Regions from separate parts of the Homo sapiens genome. Here region 2 is linked to region 1. The links are contacts of gene promoters, found by promoter capture Hi-C in blood cells and fetal thymus (Javierre and others, 2016). All regions are on one chromosome and are shown on one strand. Each heading gives the region's core, a stretch centred on a gene start or on the middle of the fragment in contact. The rest is flanking DNA. Distances are from core to core; before and after follow the strand shown. Region 1 holds the start of GAD2 (glutamate decarboxylase 2). Region 2 has its middle 35 kb from the start of LINC02680.

Region 1 (7,922 bases), core at 4,521-7,020:
CTCTTTCCCCATTACCCAGCTTTACTTTTCTGTGTAGCCTCTCACCCCCTGGTGTTTTCAAGTTGTCTGTGGGTCTCCTGCACTAGACTATAAACTCCATGACAGCAAGGACTTCTGCTCACCTGTCACCTACACTGGTGGCTGGTACTTAGCAGGTGCTCAGTGAATGAATGAATGAATCAATGGGGAGTGAATGAATCTATGTAGCTGCATTTTTAGGGAATACCCCACTTTCCAGACAAGCTGCAGAATCTGAAGGTAAACATTGGCAGGGGTTCTCAGCAATGGATTCAGAAACTTAGCCCAGCAGCCTCATTGAAAACATTGAAACACTGAAAAAGCCAACAAGGCCCATAGCTCTTGGTGTCACTAACAGAGCAGTTGGTCAGATTTTGAGTGAGCATTTTTTAAAGAAACATCTGAGCAGTTTTAAAATGCAAAATATTGAGTGTCTATTTGGGCACTTTGAGTTTTTTGTTTGACCAAAGTGTGTTAAAATTAAGGTATTAAAATAAATATTTGTTTATTGGTTGTGAATTATTGCAATCCAAACTCACCTTTCCAAACTGCACCTTCTGAAGCTTTAGTTAGCACGTATCTAAACACCATTACCAGGCTCCACCAGCCCCTCTGCTCCTCAGCTTAGAGGAGTTTTTAAAACCTGTTGAGAATTATCGCAGATACGTTTGGCCATTATCCAGTCGTTTCGATTGTGCCTTTCCTAAATGTCCGCGGTTGGCAGAACGTGGGAGGAAGAGGACCCGCCTAACTCGGGGTAGGTGGGGACGCGCTGCTCACTGTGGTGAGGTTGACACTTGGGCCCTGGGTTTCACTTGCAGGTGCTGGGCGGCGGAGAGCCCCGAGAAGGAGGAGGAGAGAGAGCCAGCAGCCAACCCCTACGACTTCAGGAGGCTCCTGCGCAAAACCTCCCAGCGCCGGCGCCTCGTCCAGCAGTCCTAACCGTTCAACGAGGCAGTCACCGCCGTCGGAAGGCGCTGGAGCCTGCGGGGCAGCAGGGGCCAAGCAGGCACTCTGGGGCTGGCACCAGCAGGCACTGAAGCTGCGGCCCTGATCTCCGCAGAGGCTGCCTGCTGCGCTCGGCCCTCAAGTGCCCGGGCCGGCCTTCGTGCTCCGAAACAAGAGACCTGGGAGCCCTCGGGAAACCTCCCCCGACGCTCTCTCTCGGAACTCCCGCACCCTCCTTTCTCACCAGCCCGCCAGTTGTGGCAACCCTGTCCTTGTTCCCCTAATCTATCACTTTGTTCTTTTTTTTTGTGACTCCTGTGGACTCCACTGCGCCTGGGATCTCGCCAACCCCTCTCTCATTTGGGGTGACTGAATTCACAGATTTTTTTTTTTATTGGAAACGGCTTTTCTTGGCCAACAGAACACTTGCTAGCGGTTGAATCTTAGAGAAAAAAGCCCGGGAGGGGTGGGGAGAATTTCGAAGATGTATTTCATCTCAAGCTTGCTCTTTCTCTTCCTTTGGTTATTAAGGTCACTAAATAAAGGAAGTGCCTTGGAAAACCCGTGGTTTGCGTGACTGATCCCTCATTTTCCCCTCTAGGGCTTCTGAGGGGCTTCTGCTATAAGGCTGTGCTGGTGACGGGCCCAAGGAGGGGCGTTGAGGTGCCTTCATCAGCGAACTCCCAGCACCACCCAGCCACTTCAGACAAACACAATCTAAGCTAAAACCCCTTGCCACACAAACGCAGAGGCCTCCAATGTCTAAATCCCCAACACACCACACGTGCTCGCCTGCACGATGCCTTCCCAATCTGCGTGACTGTCTTTGGCCCCATCTATAAAGATGCTAGTGCCCCCACTGGGTGGAACTGTCAGATTTCAGGTTCTCCCGGTCTGCAGATTTGGGGCCATCTTTGCTACTCCGACTTTGTGTGTATTTAAAATGGGGGAGGCTAGTGGGTGGACAGAAGTTTGCATTCCTGGGTTGACTGCACCTTATTCTAAAACCCGGTTTAAGCTGTTTTATGAAACTGACATTCCCATCTAAGCAACCTGGAGAGGGTGAGGACAGGTGATGAGGTCGTTGCATGGAATTGGAAGAAGGGTTCTGATCACGATGGGGCTCACCCCTTGTGTGGGTGCCCTTGGCTCCTGCACCCACAAGCCGGAGTCAAAAGACTCTGGGGAAATATTCGAGGAGTGAGTGAGGGCATGTGCAGAGGGCTCAGAGCGTTTGTTGCGCCGCTGGTCCACAGGGCATAGTAATCTCGCCAACTCAAAGAGTTGGCACCAAAAGGTCCCCAGAGCCAACTCGTGTAATCTCTTCATTTTACAGATGCAATGTGGCCAAGGGAAAACCTGCAGCTATGGCATGGCAGAGTCCAAGTGCCCTCCAGGCCTTCTTTTTCCCTGGGTTAGCGGCACAGTCTTGCTGGGGTTGCGACTGAAAGTAAGGAGTAACCCTCAGCTGTGCGAATGCACTGAGGAGCTGAGTATGGCCCAGTACCCAGGAAACCAGCACAGCAGGTCACCAGAGAGAGGGGCTTGGGAGGGGCAGGGGTGTCTAAAGCCCAAAGTGGCCTGGCCCCCTTCCACCTCTAGCTGCCTGTCCACTTGCCTCCAGAAGGCCTGGGTTTGTGGGGAGGGCGGAGCAGGGGCCAGGGGTAAGGAGCAGTAAGCTAAGCTCAGCTTTTCTGCCTGGCCACCCTTCAATCTAGGCGTCCTTCTTGGGTGGCCCCTGAAGACAAGAGCCCTGGCACTCAGCCCCTTCTGTTATTTCTGTTGGTGTAGGGAGAATTTATGGAGGGAGGCAACAGACTCCCTCCCTAAATTTTTCCTGCACCAATGTTTTAAGTGAGAATAGAAAAGAGAATGGCAAAGGCTTGGTGAATGCTTGGTTGCAATATTTTTGTGTTCTTCCGTGGTTGTTTCCTCTTTTTCTTTCCATCTTCCCTTCTTTCTCTGTCCTTTGACATTTAAGCACGGGAAGGACACAGGAAAATGTGTGCCAGACACTCTTCTTTGGGTCAGCCTGAGACCCATATGTTGGTAAACCAGACACCTAAGGAAACTGTCCCTACAAGTCGGAGGATTGGGTCTCTCGCCCCTCATCTGAGGAAGGGCCTTCCAAAGCGGCCGCCTTCCCTTCCCATTCACTGGCTGCCTCCTTTGTGAACTAATGACTGTAATTATTACCTCCCAGAGCTCTTTTGTTATCTCCAACCCCAAGCCCCGGAGAGGGGGAATGGGCTCTTTAGTGAAATGAAAGTCATTACAAAGCAAATTACCGTCTAGGGAGGGACAGCCTTCAGGAAAGACAAATCAGATCTCCATCTGCATCTGAAGTAGGGTGTGTTTAAATAAAAAATGTAAATATCACCATTAGATCCAAAGTACTCCAGAGCTGTGGGATTTAATGGAGTTTAAACGGTAGCACTTGAAGCCATTGCTTTACCAAAAAGAAAAAAAAATCAGTTAAATTCAGGTGTTTTAATCCGTTTCTTCTTTGGGGGTTTTGTGTGATTTAAACGCTTGCTTTTAAGAACCTTTATGTTTTCAACCACTCATCCATAGTAGAAAAGTTCTGCAACCCTAGACTGCTGGCTTGAAGGAAAACCTTTGCAGGATTTGATATGGATTTCAACAAAGAACCAGCCTCTGCGAGGCTGGAGAGAGCTGCGGAGCTGCCATGCCTGAAGTGCAGATGGCTGAACCACAAGTCTTTAGGTTTCCGGAGTTGTTATTGTGGTGACCTAGAGTGTCAGAGCCAGGAGAGCAAGAAAGAGGAGCCAAACTGAGCCCTGAGTTTTCGACCACCCGGGCTCCCACAGCCTGGAACAGACTTCACCTAGCACGCTCAGTGCCAGCCTTCGGCAGGACGCTATCAACGCCCGACTGGTTTCCTGCTCTCATCCTGGCGCCTGGGCCCAGTTGCCATAGTGTGGATCCCATGACTCCTCAGGGAACCCCTGGACTCAGGCACGCGAGAAGAAGACAGCGCTTTGTGGAGAGAATTGACCAGGGACAGTTATGCTCGAGCACACAGGACTTGGGCCTGTATGCGTCCAGCATGGGCCCCAGGATGTCCCTTCTAAGCGAGGGTCGAGGGGTGCTCGCCCAGACGGGATCCCCGGGTCTCTGCTTTGTTAGCAGCTTTGGTGGCTGGTTCAGGAGGTCAGAGAAATAAAACGACTTGTGAACACAATGGAAATGACAGGCGCTCTGGCCAGGCGCGGGGAAGGCAGCCGCCTCGGGAAGCCGACCTCAGCCCTTTCCTCTCTCTCCCTCCCTCCGTCTCCCCCAGAGCCCCGGAGCTCCGAGGTGCACTTGAAGTTCATCTCCACTGCCAGGAGAACGCAGCGCAAACTGTCAAAGGGCTCCCAATCCTTAGGGCGTCCTCCCTGTCTGCAATAGCTTTTTGTAGAAAGGAAATCATCAGAACGATTCTGACTTTCTCCTCCTTTCTTTATTAGAAAAAGAGAAACCGCCTCCTAATACGCCTCAGAGAGAACCAATCTCGCGCTTCCGGGTCACCCGCTACCGCGAAGATTCTCTGGGGGCGAGGGGGGGCATTGGTTTGAAGCCCCTTAAAACGAGGGCCCTGCAGGCGATGCCTTCTTTCCTACTCGGATTTGTAAAGCCGAGATTGCTTAGTTGGAAACCCTGTTCTCCCCTCCCAGGCGCACACAGATCCCCCTTACACGCAAGCAGCGGGCGCTTCCACGCCTCCGCGGGCCAAGGTCACCAAATGCCCTGATTCCATCCCCCACCCGCCATCAATCCTGCCGACTCTGGCCGCTCTGCCTCATTCTCTTCCAAGAAGTTTCCATTCGTTTTATTTTTTTTTCCCCAGCCCGAGGTCCTCAGTAGACTCCAGCGTGGATTTTAATTGCCTCAATCAGCAGTCATTCTCCCCAGCCGTCACTCAGAGCCTGGACGGTGGGTCCCGCGATCTAGCCCTTGGCTACGCAGGAACGGTGCGCCCCCGGGTACGGCGCGGTTCAGCAGGCAGGCGTCAGGTTCTACCAAGGCGCTGAAATGAGCCCATCAGCGGGTAGGAGCCCTTCCCCCGCCGTCCCCTCCCCAGGCTCGTGAACGGCGCCTGATGCCCGCCCGGGGCGCGAGCTCTCGAGGTCGCAGTGACCTCAGCACCTGCTTGGAGGAAAACGGCGCGGGAACCCCGCTTCCTTCCCCTCAGCTGGAGCCAGACCTCAAACAAAACCCCAATCGATGCACACAGAAAACTCCTCTGGGCCACGCTTCCCGCCTCGCCGAGGTCTCCCCAGTCTGCCCCTCGCTGACGCTGGCGCGCAGCGGCTGTGGCAGCACCCGGGACAGCGGCCGCCCGCACTTCCCGCCTCTGGCTCGCCCGAGGACGCGCTGGCACGCCTCCCACCCCCTCACTCTGACTCCAGCTGGCGTGCATGGTCTGCCTCGCATCCTCACGACTCAGCTCCCTCCCTCTCTCGTGTTTTTTTCCTCCGCCGCCCCCTCATTCATCCCCACTGGGCTCCCTTTCCCTCAAATGCTCTGGGGCTCTCCGCGCTTTCCTGAGTCCGGGCTCCGAGGACCCTTAGGTAGTCCCGGTCTCTTTTAAAGCTCCCCGGCTTCCAAAGGGTTGCCACGTCCCTAAACCCTGTCTCCAGCTCGCATACACACACGCACAGACACGCACGTTTTCTGTTCCTGCGTGACACCCGCCCTCGCCGCTCGGCCCCGCCGGTCCCCGCGCGGTGCCCTCCTCCCGCCACACGGGCACGCACGCGCGCGCAGGGCCAAGCCCGAGGCAGCTCGCCCGCAGCTCGCACTCGCAGGCGACCTGCTCCAGTCTCCAAAGCCGATGGCATCTCCGGGCTCTGGCTTTTGGTCTTTCGGGTCGGAAGATGGCTCTGGGGATTCCGAGAATCCCGGCACAGGTAGGAAGGAGAACGGGGGCCTGCGGCGGGCGAGTTTTGCGGTGGTCTGGGGTTTGCGGAACTACGGAGAAGACGAAGGAGGTTTTTCCACCTGCAACAGGAAACTTCTTCGGGCGCTTCTCCCTGCTTTTGGGCTAAGTCCTTGACGGCCCAAGAGCTCAAGACCTCTACAGCCTCTTGTACCCTGGGAAGACGCCCAAATAGTCTCAGGCCCGTTCCACAGAAGGTTGGAAGAGCCCCCCAAAGACCGCGGTGTCTCGGGGACATGGAATTCCGTGGTCCTGGGGCGCTGCTAAGATCCGGGTGTCTGGACCCTGGGGTGGGACGGAGTGACCGTGAAGATAGAAAAAAAAAATGGGAAAGGTGAGAGATTTCTTTATCTAGAAAGACAGTCTGCGAAAAAATGGATAGCTTCAGTGTTTAGGAAAACTCGTCCAAGGTAGGCAGGGAGAGGAATTTGCCTGAGCCGATTGGCACCTGGAAGGGCAGCGGTGTGGGCTTCTCCTCGGGAAACAGATAAAGGAAATGAGGGCTGGCCCGGGCCGCCAGCCTCCCGCTTGCCTTCTGCACCTGCCGGCCTCACCGAGTCCTGAGCGGCCCCCAGGAGGAAGGCGGCCCCTCCTAGGACCCCGGACTGATTGATTTTCACATAGAACGAAATTTCACACGTCCGTCTGTTGTTCTCTTTCTGCCTCGCTGTCTGCCTGCCTATTCTTCCTTGCAGCGCGAGCCTGGTGCCAAGTGGCTCAGAAGTTCACGGGCGGCATCGGAAACAAACTGTGCGGTGAGTGCCCAGGGACCGGGGCGGCCAAGGTCGGCCCGCGGGGTCCAAGCAGTCTTCTCACCTCCGCATCCCAGTCAGCGGAGTCGGGGTTTCCTGGCTGCGGGTAGGCGGGAGCGAGGGAGCCGGGCCCGGCGGAGGATTGACGAGGCCCGCGTTCGGTGTCCTTACCCAGCCCTGCTCTACGGAGACGCCGAGAAGCCGGCGGAGAGCGGCGGGAGCCAACCCCCGCGGGCCGCCGCCCGGAAGGCCGCCTGCGCCTGCGACCAGAAGCCCTGCAGCTGCTCCAAAGTGGATGTCAACTACGCGTTTCTCCATGCAACAGGTAAAGACTCAGCGGGGAGCCCCGGGGCGCCCCTGCCCCTCTCTCTGCCCCGCCCACCGCGGCCGGTGCGGGTCCGGCGCTGAGAGCCGGACAGGGGCGTCGAGGTGGCAGCGGAGGCGGGACCTGCCAGAATCTTCAGATAAAAGCGAGAAATGCGGGACCTGCCCGCTGGGTCCAAGCCCCCGAACCTGGCCTCGGAGCTCCAAGAGGGCTCTGAGGCCGTGGCGCTCTTCCCCCAGCGCGGCCCTTGGGATGGCGGGTGGCCGACGATCCAGGCGCTCGTGCGCTCACTGAATCGATGACGGCTGGCTTCCCTAGGCCGCTGGGGCCTCGGGTGGGACTCAGTTTCCAAATACCGTGCCCGAGAATTCAGAATTGCATTTTTTTTAGGTCTTTAGATCACGAGAGTGATTTGTAGCTGCAATTGCACAAGAGAACGATTCCATTCACATGAAACCCGCGCGCCGAGTTTTACCCCCGTGCACTTACACACCGTCTCCCAAATGTACGCGCGCACACACACATGCAGACACACATGCATACGCTCTCTCTCTCTCTCTCACACACACACACACACACACACACACACACACACACTGACTTTAGAAACAGCGGGCCTTCCTATCAGACCAGAGATCCTAATGCACCTGTTCCACTTTGGTTTGCCCGAAGGCATTCGAGACAAACACTTCTGACGTGAAATATTTATGTAAACATGTAAGATGGTTTACTGAGAAACACGTTTAAGACGAACTCCTGTGAACTAGATAAACGGAGGTACACGCTCTTCAAAAAAAGAAGGCAAACAATATAAGTTATGAATTGAAATGCAGTAATTAATTTGGGGAAGAGAAGAAATCATAATTTATCTCATTCATTCCCTTCACCTTTGAAAAATGTCTCCCTTTTAAAGAAAAATGTTCTGCCTTTCCAA
Region 2 (7,922 bases), core at 3,459-5,958, 1.4 Mb after region 1:
TTTGTAGTTCTCTTGTTTCTTTCTTACTTTTTTACTATCTTTCTTTGTGATTTATTGATTTTTTTGTAGTGGTATACTTTCCTTTCTCTTTTTCTTTTATCTACTAGAGTTTTTTTTTCTTTGTGGTTACTATAAGGCATACATAAAATCTTATAGTTATAAAATTCTATTTTAAGCATGAAACAACTTCAATCCCATACAAAAGCTTTACATTTTTATATCTCTCTCTTCCTACATTATAGGCTATCGATGTCAAACTTCTTATTTTTAAGTATTGTGTATCCATTAACAAATCATTGTAGCTATTTTTAGTACTTTTGTCTTTTAACTTTTATGCAAGAATTAAATCTGATTTATGTGCCACCATTACAGTTTTAGAGTATTCTGAATTTGACTATATATTTACTTTTGTCAGTTAGTTTTACATTTTCATACGTTTTCACATTGTTACTTAGTGTCCTTTTCTTTCAACTTAAAGGGCCCTTTTTAGCACTTGTAAGGCAGTTCTTGGACAATGAACTCTCTCAGCTTCTGTTTGTCTGGGAATGACTTTATCTCTCCATTTCTGAAGAATAGCTTTGCCAGGTATATTATTTTTGGTTGGAATAATAATAAACGCAAAGTGCTTTCAGCACTTTGAATATATCACCCAGGCTTACAAGGTTTCTACTAAGAAACCTTCTTATAGCCTTATAGACGTTCCCTTCTATGTGACAAATCACTTTCTCTTGCTGCTTTAAACATTTTTTCTTCATCTTTGACTTTTGACAATTTGTTTACAATGTGTTGAATATAATCTTATTCAAGTTGATCTTGCTTTGGGACTTTTGCACTTCAGGAATCTGGATGTCTATATCCCTCTCAAGATTTGGGAAATTTTCAGACATTATTTCTTTAAATAAACTTTCTGCCCATTTCTGTCTCTCTCTTCTTGGACTCTAATTATGCACATATTCACCAATTTGATAGTGTCTCATAGGTCCCATATGCTTTTCTCACTATTTTTCTTTTTCTTATCTTTTCTTTTCTTTTGTTCCTTCAACTTTCTAATTTCAACTGATGTGTGTTTGAGTTCTTAGATTCTCTCTTCTGCATGATCCAGCTTCCTGTTGAAGCTATTGAAATTTTCAGTCCTGTCATTGAATTCTTCAGCTCCAAGATATCTATTTGGTTCATTTTTTAATGGTTTCTATTTCTCTGGTGAACTTCTCATTTTGTTTATACCTTGTTTTCCTGATTTTGTTTAGTTGTCTGTCTGTGTTCTCTTGCATTATTGGGCTTCTCTAAGATGATTATTTTGAATTCTTTGTCAGATGATTTGTAGATCTCCTTTCTTTGGCGTGAGATATTGGAGCTTTATTAATTTCCTTTGGTGGTGTTATGGTAGTAACAGGTTTGGTAGCCTGATTCTTCATGATCTGTGTAGCTCCGCATTAGTGTCTGTGCATTTAAGAAGCAAGTACATTTTTCAGTCTTTATAGACTGGTTTTGGCAGGTAAAGATCTTCTTTTGTCAGCTCCCAGGGCTGATGGCATTTCCTCTAGGAGCACAGTCAAGTGATGCCATCACCCCTGGGATCTGACAAAAGAAGTCAAGTGGGGTTGTAGCCAGGTCATGTAGCTACTACTGGGCTCTGCAGTTGGCAGGTTTGTTACCAGTGGCTCAAGCAGATGTGGATCCTGCCTGGTATCTGGGTGAATGGATCTACTTCCAAGACCTTGGTCAGTAGGGCTGGCACTGGGACAAGGGTCTGCTTCAGGATCTGTAGTTGGTTGATAGTAGGCTTGTTACTAAATGCATAGGTGAGTGTGGCTCCTCCTGGATCATTGTGTAGGTCTCTGGGTGGGCAGAACTGACCTTGGACCACAGCTTGGAGGGACTAAGTCACAGGGCTGCTTCAGGGTCACAGCTAAGACTGAGCTCTTCAGGCCTGCCTCTAGGGGCACAGATGTGTGGATCTCCCACTGGGTCTTTTGGTGGGTAGGACTATTCCTGGACTATGGCTGAGAGGGGCTGAATTCTGTTCCTGGACTATAGCTGAGAGGGGCTGAAGCCAAGTTATAAGACTATTCCAGGATCTGTAGTTGGACCAAGGTGTGTGGGCCCACCTCCTAGGGTATGGACAGGTGTGTTTCCCAATAGGCAGGCACTGGGAAACTTCCAAACTGTGGCTGAAAGGGTCTGGAGCCTGGTCTTGGGCCTCTTCAAGGCTTATGATCAGGACTGAGGTCAGTGGGCCTATTACTCCAGGCATGAGCAGGCATGGCCCGTCCTGGGTCCTTTGGCAGATGGTGCCAGTGGCAGGACCAATTGGAGGTGTACCTGAGTCTACAGGAGGACAGAGATGCTAGGACCACAGTGATCCTGCCACCTGGGTGCTGGCCTGCCTTCTCAAAATGGCTCTCCTCAGTCTCAGGCTTCACTGAGCTTTTGTAACCTCCTACCTGGATCGAAAAACCCCCACAAGGGCACTTTTGTCCATGGATAGCAGCCAAAATATTGTTACTGTCGGGGGCTCCCAATGGCGGGCCCACCTATCCTGCCATCTTGCTTGCTGCCATCACTCCTCTATTTGTCTTTTTTTTTTTTTTTGAGACAGAGTCTTGCTCTGTCACCCAGGTTGGAGTGCAGTGGCATGATCTCGGCTCACTGAAATCTCCGCCTTCCAGGTTCAAGCGATTCTCGTGCCTCAGCCTCCCAAGTAGCTGGGATTACAGACACCCACCACCATGCCCAGCTAATTTTTGTATTTTTAGTAGAGATGGAGTTTCATCACATTGGCCAGGTTGGTTTTGAACACTTGACCTCAGGTGATCCTCCCGGCCTTGGCTGGGATTACAGGTGTGAGCCACCATGCCCTGCCTATTTATCTCTATTAATTGACATCTAGGTTGTTTCCATTTTCCTTTATCATAAGCATAACGCTTTTGTGCAATTTTTACTGTTCAACAAGGCCAGGCCAATTTACACTCACCAAGACTATATGAAAATACTCATTTTTTTTACACCCTTGATAATACCAGATGCTAGAAATCTTTTTAATTTTTACCAAATATATAGGCCCCAAACTGCATCTCCTTCTTTTAGTTTGAAAAAAATACATAAGTGAAATTGAGCACTTTTACATGTGTGTATTGAACTTATTTCACTTTTATTTCCTTTATTGTGAATTGATACTTTTTCCCCTCCCACCTTTCAGTGCCGTCTCTGGAAGTCCCATTAGGTCAATGTTAATGCAGACAGGGTGGGATGTTTAAAGCTCCAGTTTTCAAGAGCCAACATTACCCTGTGGCAGGTTACTGTGCTTAAACTGGTTTTATCCATAAATGGAACAATTTTACCCAGACAAGCAGCTGCACAATGTCTTTCAGGGCTGAGATTACCTAGTAAAATGGGGTGTGTGGGTCAGATGTGCCCGAGCGGTACAGCAAGTGTACAGGCTGCAGTGAGAAGGGCAACGATAAAGGCTGTTGGAGCATGACTTTGATTCTCACTAGAACAGGAGCCAGCAGGAAAGACTTAATGGTGGGATTAGACCTTCTCAGGCATTGGTAGGTGTAACAATATTGACTGTTCTTAAGCTGCAAGGAATCTGAGCTCTGCCTACTCTACAGAGCACTAGGGAGTGTCTAGGTTAATGTGGCTGCCAGGCCCTGATAGGCAGGACCAGAGCAGCTGCTCCAAATGTCATTTCTTTCCAGGGCCAAGGAGGCAAGCTTAGAGGGCTCAGCTTTGAACTTAAGTGCTTGCTCTCAGGCTGAAGAGTCATTCCCACCATGTAGTTTCCCGTTAGCTCTAGATTAGGGTTGCCATACTGAGCAAATAAAAATACAAGATGTCCAATTAAATTTGAATTTCAGATAAACAAAACAACAAGTTTTTAGGGCAAGTCTATCTCATGCAATATTTGGAATATGCTAAAAAGTAATGGTTGTTTATCTGAAACTTAGATTTAACTGAGTGGGCTGAGTCTTATCTGGCTGCTGTATACTAGGCTGATCATTTTACATACACAATCAATGTAACGTACCTTTAGATACCCAGGACCCAAACTGCATAGCATGTTGGATTGAGGAGCAGCCCGTGGTAGAAGAATTGGCCTTTGCAACGGCTCTAGCAGCCAAAACTTCATATTCATCAAGAGCAGCTTTGATCTTCCAGCTGAAATAAACATGGGGATTGAAAGAGAAACCATCCTTGGCAAGTCTCACAGGCTTCCATAGGAAGGCCACTGTAGCACAGCACCGGAATGTTTGTTCACACGAGAATGTTAAGTGGACTCTGGATGGAGTCACATTCAGTGAAACATTGGTTGCCAGAAACACAAGGCCCGAAAGGAAAATGAGAAATTAAGATGATTGCCTATTCTGGATGGGAAATGAAGATTCCTCAAATAAGACTCAGTGCCTGAGGCTGCACCATTGCAGAAATATTAGTAAGAACATAGCATTTTCAAAATGCTACTTTCTGATAGGAAGTACAGTATGTATACGTAGCTTTCTCCCCTAGGTACGTTCACGTATGGGCCAAAGTTAACTTCCTGATGGATGATTTCTTCCAAGGGAGTTTAAATTCCCAGGAAGTGGATTCAGGACAGCTGACATAGACTAATCAGTGTCCTGGTGAACTGTCCTTCCATTCTGTCCTTCCTTCAGACACCAGTGAGTTTTTGCTTTGGACTTTGGCAACAGTAAACACTGGGTTCTGGGAACATAATTTTATCTGGGATAATTGCACTTACGGTCTGCAAATTGGCTTACTTACTAAAGGCAGAGTGGGGAGAGCCAATGTTTTCATATTCTTGCTTTTCTAGGAACATATCGGACTTTTTAAAGGCAGGGCATATGAGAAACTAATTCAATTCCTATGACCCAGAATGAACTACAGCCTTCCAGAGGACAGCCTCGTCCACAGCTGCTGAGCAACCCTCACATTACCCAAGCACTGAGGACCCTCTAGTGATACTGAACAGAGTCAGATATTTAGGATGGGGATAAATATCAAACTTTAATTTCTTTGGATTTTAACTCACAAGGACAAAAACTTTTGGACTTAACTTAAGAATTTTGGATTCTAATCCCTGGGATTTAATCTTCAAATTTTAATTTCTCAGGAGGAAATGTATAATAGGAAGGGTTTTATGTTCAATTTTTTTTTTGAAATGGACTCTCACTTTGTCACCCAGGCTGGAGTGCAGTGGCACGATCTCGGCTCACTGCAGCAACCAACTCCTGGGTTCAAGTGACTGAATGCCTCAGTCTCCTGAGTAGCTGGGATTACAGGTGTGCGCCACCATGCCCTGCTAATTTTTGTATTTTTAGTAGAGATGGGGTTTCACCATGTTGGCCAGGCAGGTCTTGAACTCCTGACCTCAGGTTATCCACCTGCCATGGCCTCCCAAAGTGCTGGGATTACAAGCATGAGCCACTGCACCTGGCCTTTGTTCAAATTTGAACTTTTTCTATTTTTTCTATTGAATTTTTTCTATTGGAATTTTTTCTATTGAATTTAAATAATAAAATATTTGATATAATCATGTTACTGGAGTATCTTACTATTGTTGAAGAAGCTCTGATAATATGGCTCAATATAATTGGGTAGGAAATAGAATAGGGAATGAAATTTTCAGCCATGAGTATAGATTGGCCCAAAGAAAGAAACTGATGTATTTAAACTATTCCAGACCATAGTAAAGGACACAAAGCTTACTAATTAGTTTTATGAAGCTAGCATACTCTTAATATCAAAATCTGATATAAAGATAACAGATAAGGAGATATAGCTGGTTATCATTATTTGCAGTAGCTTTTTTTAAATAAGTCATTACAAATGCTGAATTAGCAATTATTGAACAATTGCTCCCAGGGGGTCCCTGCAAGCTTCTTGTAAGGATATTTTTGTCAACTGATAAATACCTAACCTTATTTCATGTGGGTTTCTGTTTGGAGATGCCTTATTTAATACGTATTTTTGATTCATTAACATTGAATTCATGCTAACTCATACCTATAACTTATGCCTGATCAAAGCTGATCTAACAGCAAAATCAGTAACAAAAAGCACAAAGGTACAAAAAACATGGCACTAAATCTACCACAAAAAGGACACTTGCTTACATTATGAAAGCTGAAACAAGAAGTTAGAGCATCACTTCGTTCAGCCTTATCCGAGAATGTGCCCAACAGGTGATTCACATGTTTTGCCACTCTACACGTGTCCTTGATTGACTGCAAAATGCAGTGCGTATTGATTTGGGGTTACAGATACATTTTAGCAAGCAGGTGAATTTGCAAATACAGAATCTTTGAGTAATAAGGATTGACTGTCTGGCACAATTTGTTTATATTATCAACATTACCCTAATTGTGGGGTAAGAACCCAAATGAAGGCACTTATAAGATATTTTTAAAAGGCATTTAAACAAGATGTGAAAAAGCAGAAACCTACTATGTTTCTGAAACAAGAAGACCACATAAGATGCAATGTCAATAAAAATTTCAATGGGTAATTTTTTAATAGACAAATTATTTTAAAGTTCTTATATAAAAATAGATATGCTATAATTGCTCAAGATTTTTAGAAAAGAAAAAGAATATTAAAACTTATTGTAAAAGTATTGTAAATAAAACAGTGTGGCACAGGCACAGGAATTAAAAAATAGAGAGTTTAGAAACAGATCCATGGAGACATACTATCACAATGGCATTTCAATTCACCAGAGGATGGGGTATCTGTTTTATATATGACATTGTCCCAAACTTCACACAACATACGTGAAAGTGAATTTAAGATAAGTGGGTTAAAGTTCTTGATATTTTTAACTGTAAATATTTTAAAAGAAAATTTGAGATATATTTTGTGACCTGAGGTGGTATAAGCCTTCAGGAAACCCAGAATCCACAAAGAGTTGATTATCTAAAAGTTAAAAACCTCTGTAAGTCAAAGGATGAAATAATGGAAAATGTCAAAAGACAAGTCTGGGAAAAAATACTTTTTAACATGTGTGAAAGAACAAGTGCTAATGTTATTCAGCTTCTACAAATTCATAAGAAGACAACCTGCTATGACAAAGGATGTGAATAGGAATTCACAGAGGAGAAAATGCATATGAAATGACGAATAATTATACAAGTATGCTCAACCTAAACACAGAAATGCAAATAAAAATCACAATAAGATCACTTTATGCACACCTGAATAGTAAAACAACAACAAAAAAAGAAAGAAGGAAAGGAAAGAAGCAGCAGCAACCAGTGCTTTTAGAAGCGTGGGAGGCCTGTAATCCCAGCACTTTGGGAGGCTGAGGCAGGTGACTCACGAGGTCAGGAGTTCAAGACCAGCCTGGCCAAAATGGTGAAACTCCGCCTCTACTAAAGATACAAAAATTAACCTGGCCTGGTGGCATGCACCTGTAATCCCAGCTACTCCAGAGGCTGAGGCAGAGAATTGCTGGAACCCAGCAGTTGGAGGTTGCAGTGAGCCAAGATTGCACCACTGCACTCCAGCCTGGAAGACAGAGTGAGACTCTGCCTCAAAAAAAAAAAAAAAAGAAACAAGCATAGGAAAACAGGCACTTGCATCTGCTGCTGGTGGAAATAAGCTTTATGAATACATTTTTAAAATAATATGACAATATTTATTAAAATTAAAAATATACATATTCGTACTCTTAACCTATCAACAATAATTGTAGGAATCTATCCTCCAGATATACATGTATACATATATACATATGTGTTTAAATTTATTTATGTTACTGCACTGTTTGTAATAGGAAAAAATGGAAACAACCCGAATGTCCGCCAATATGTAGTACAGCCACACCACGGAATAGTCCGCATCTATGAAAAAGAATGTCTGTAGACTTTATCTTTTAGTGCAGTGGCTTTTTTCCAAGATTATGCCCTTAAGACCTTGTGAGA

The links. The method cuts DNA at HindIII sites, captures the fragments that hold promoters and counts their contacts. A CHiCAGO score of 5 or more calls a contact.
Region 2: a contact is called between a fragment that was not itself captured here and the fragment with the promoter of GAD2 in region 1, in 1 of 17 cell types (non-activated CD4 T cells). The highest score is 5.8, in non-activated CD4 T cells.

Annotation. Positions count from the first base shown.
Region 1 is chr10:26,211,004-26,218,925 of GRCh38, forward strand. It overlaps GAD2 (glutamate decarboxylase 2), which reads left to right and starts at 5,771. Exons shown (of 16, transcript NM_001134366.2): 1 at 5,771-5,882; 2 at 6,607-6,666; 3 at 6,839-6,988. The coding sequence starts at 5,807. It overlaps MYO3A (myosin IIIA), which reads left to right. Exons shown (of 35, transcript NM_017433.5): 35 at 840-1,529. The coding sequence ends at 960. RefSeq lists enhancers at 2,785-3,352, 3,353-3,918, 3,919-4,485, 7,095-7,723. The HindIII fragment of the contact is 6,458 bases long and covers 1,466-7,922 here.
Region 2 is chr10:27,597,473-27,605,394 of GRCh38, forward strand. No RefSeq gene overlaps it. Among named protein-coding and RNA genes, the nearest start is that of LINC02680, 35 kb to the left of the region's middle. RefSeq lists an enhancer at 1,836-2,337. The HindIII fragment of the contact is 1,988 bases long and covers 3,715-5,702 here.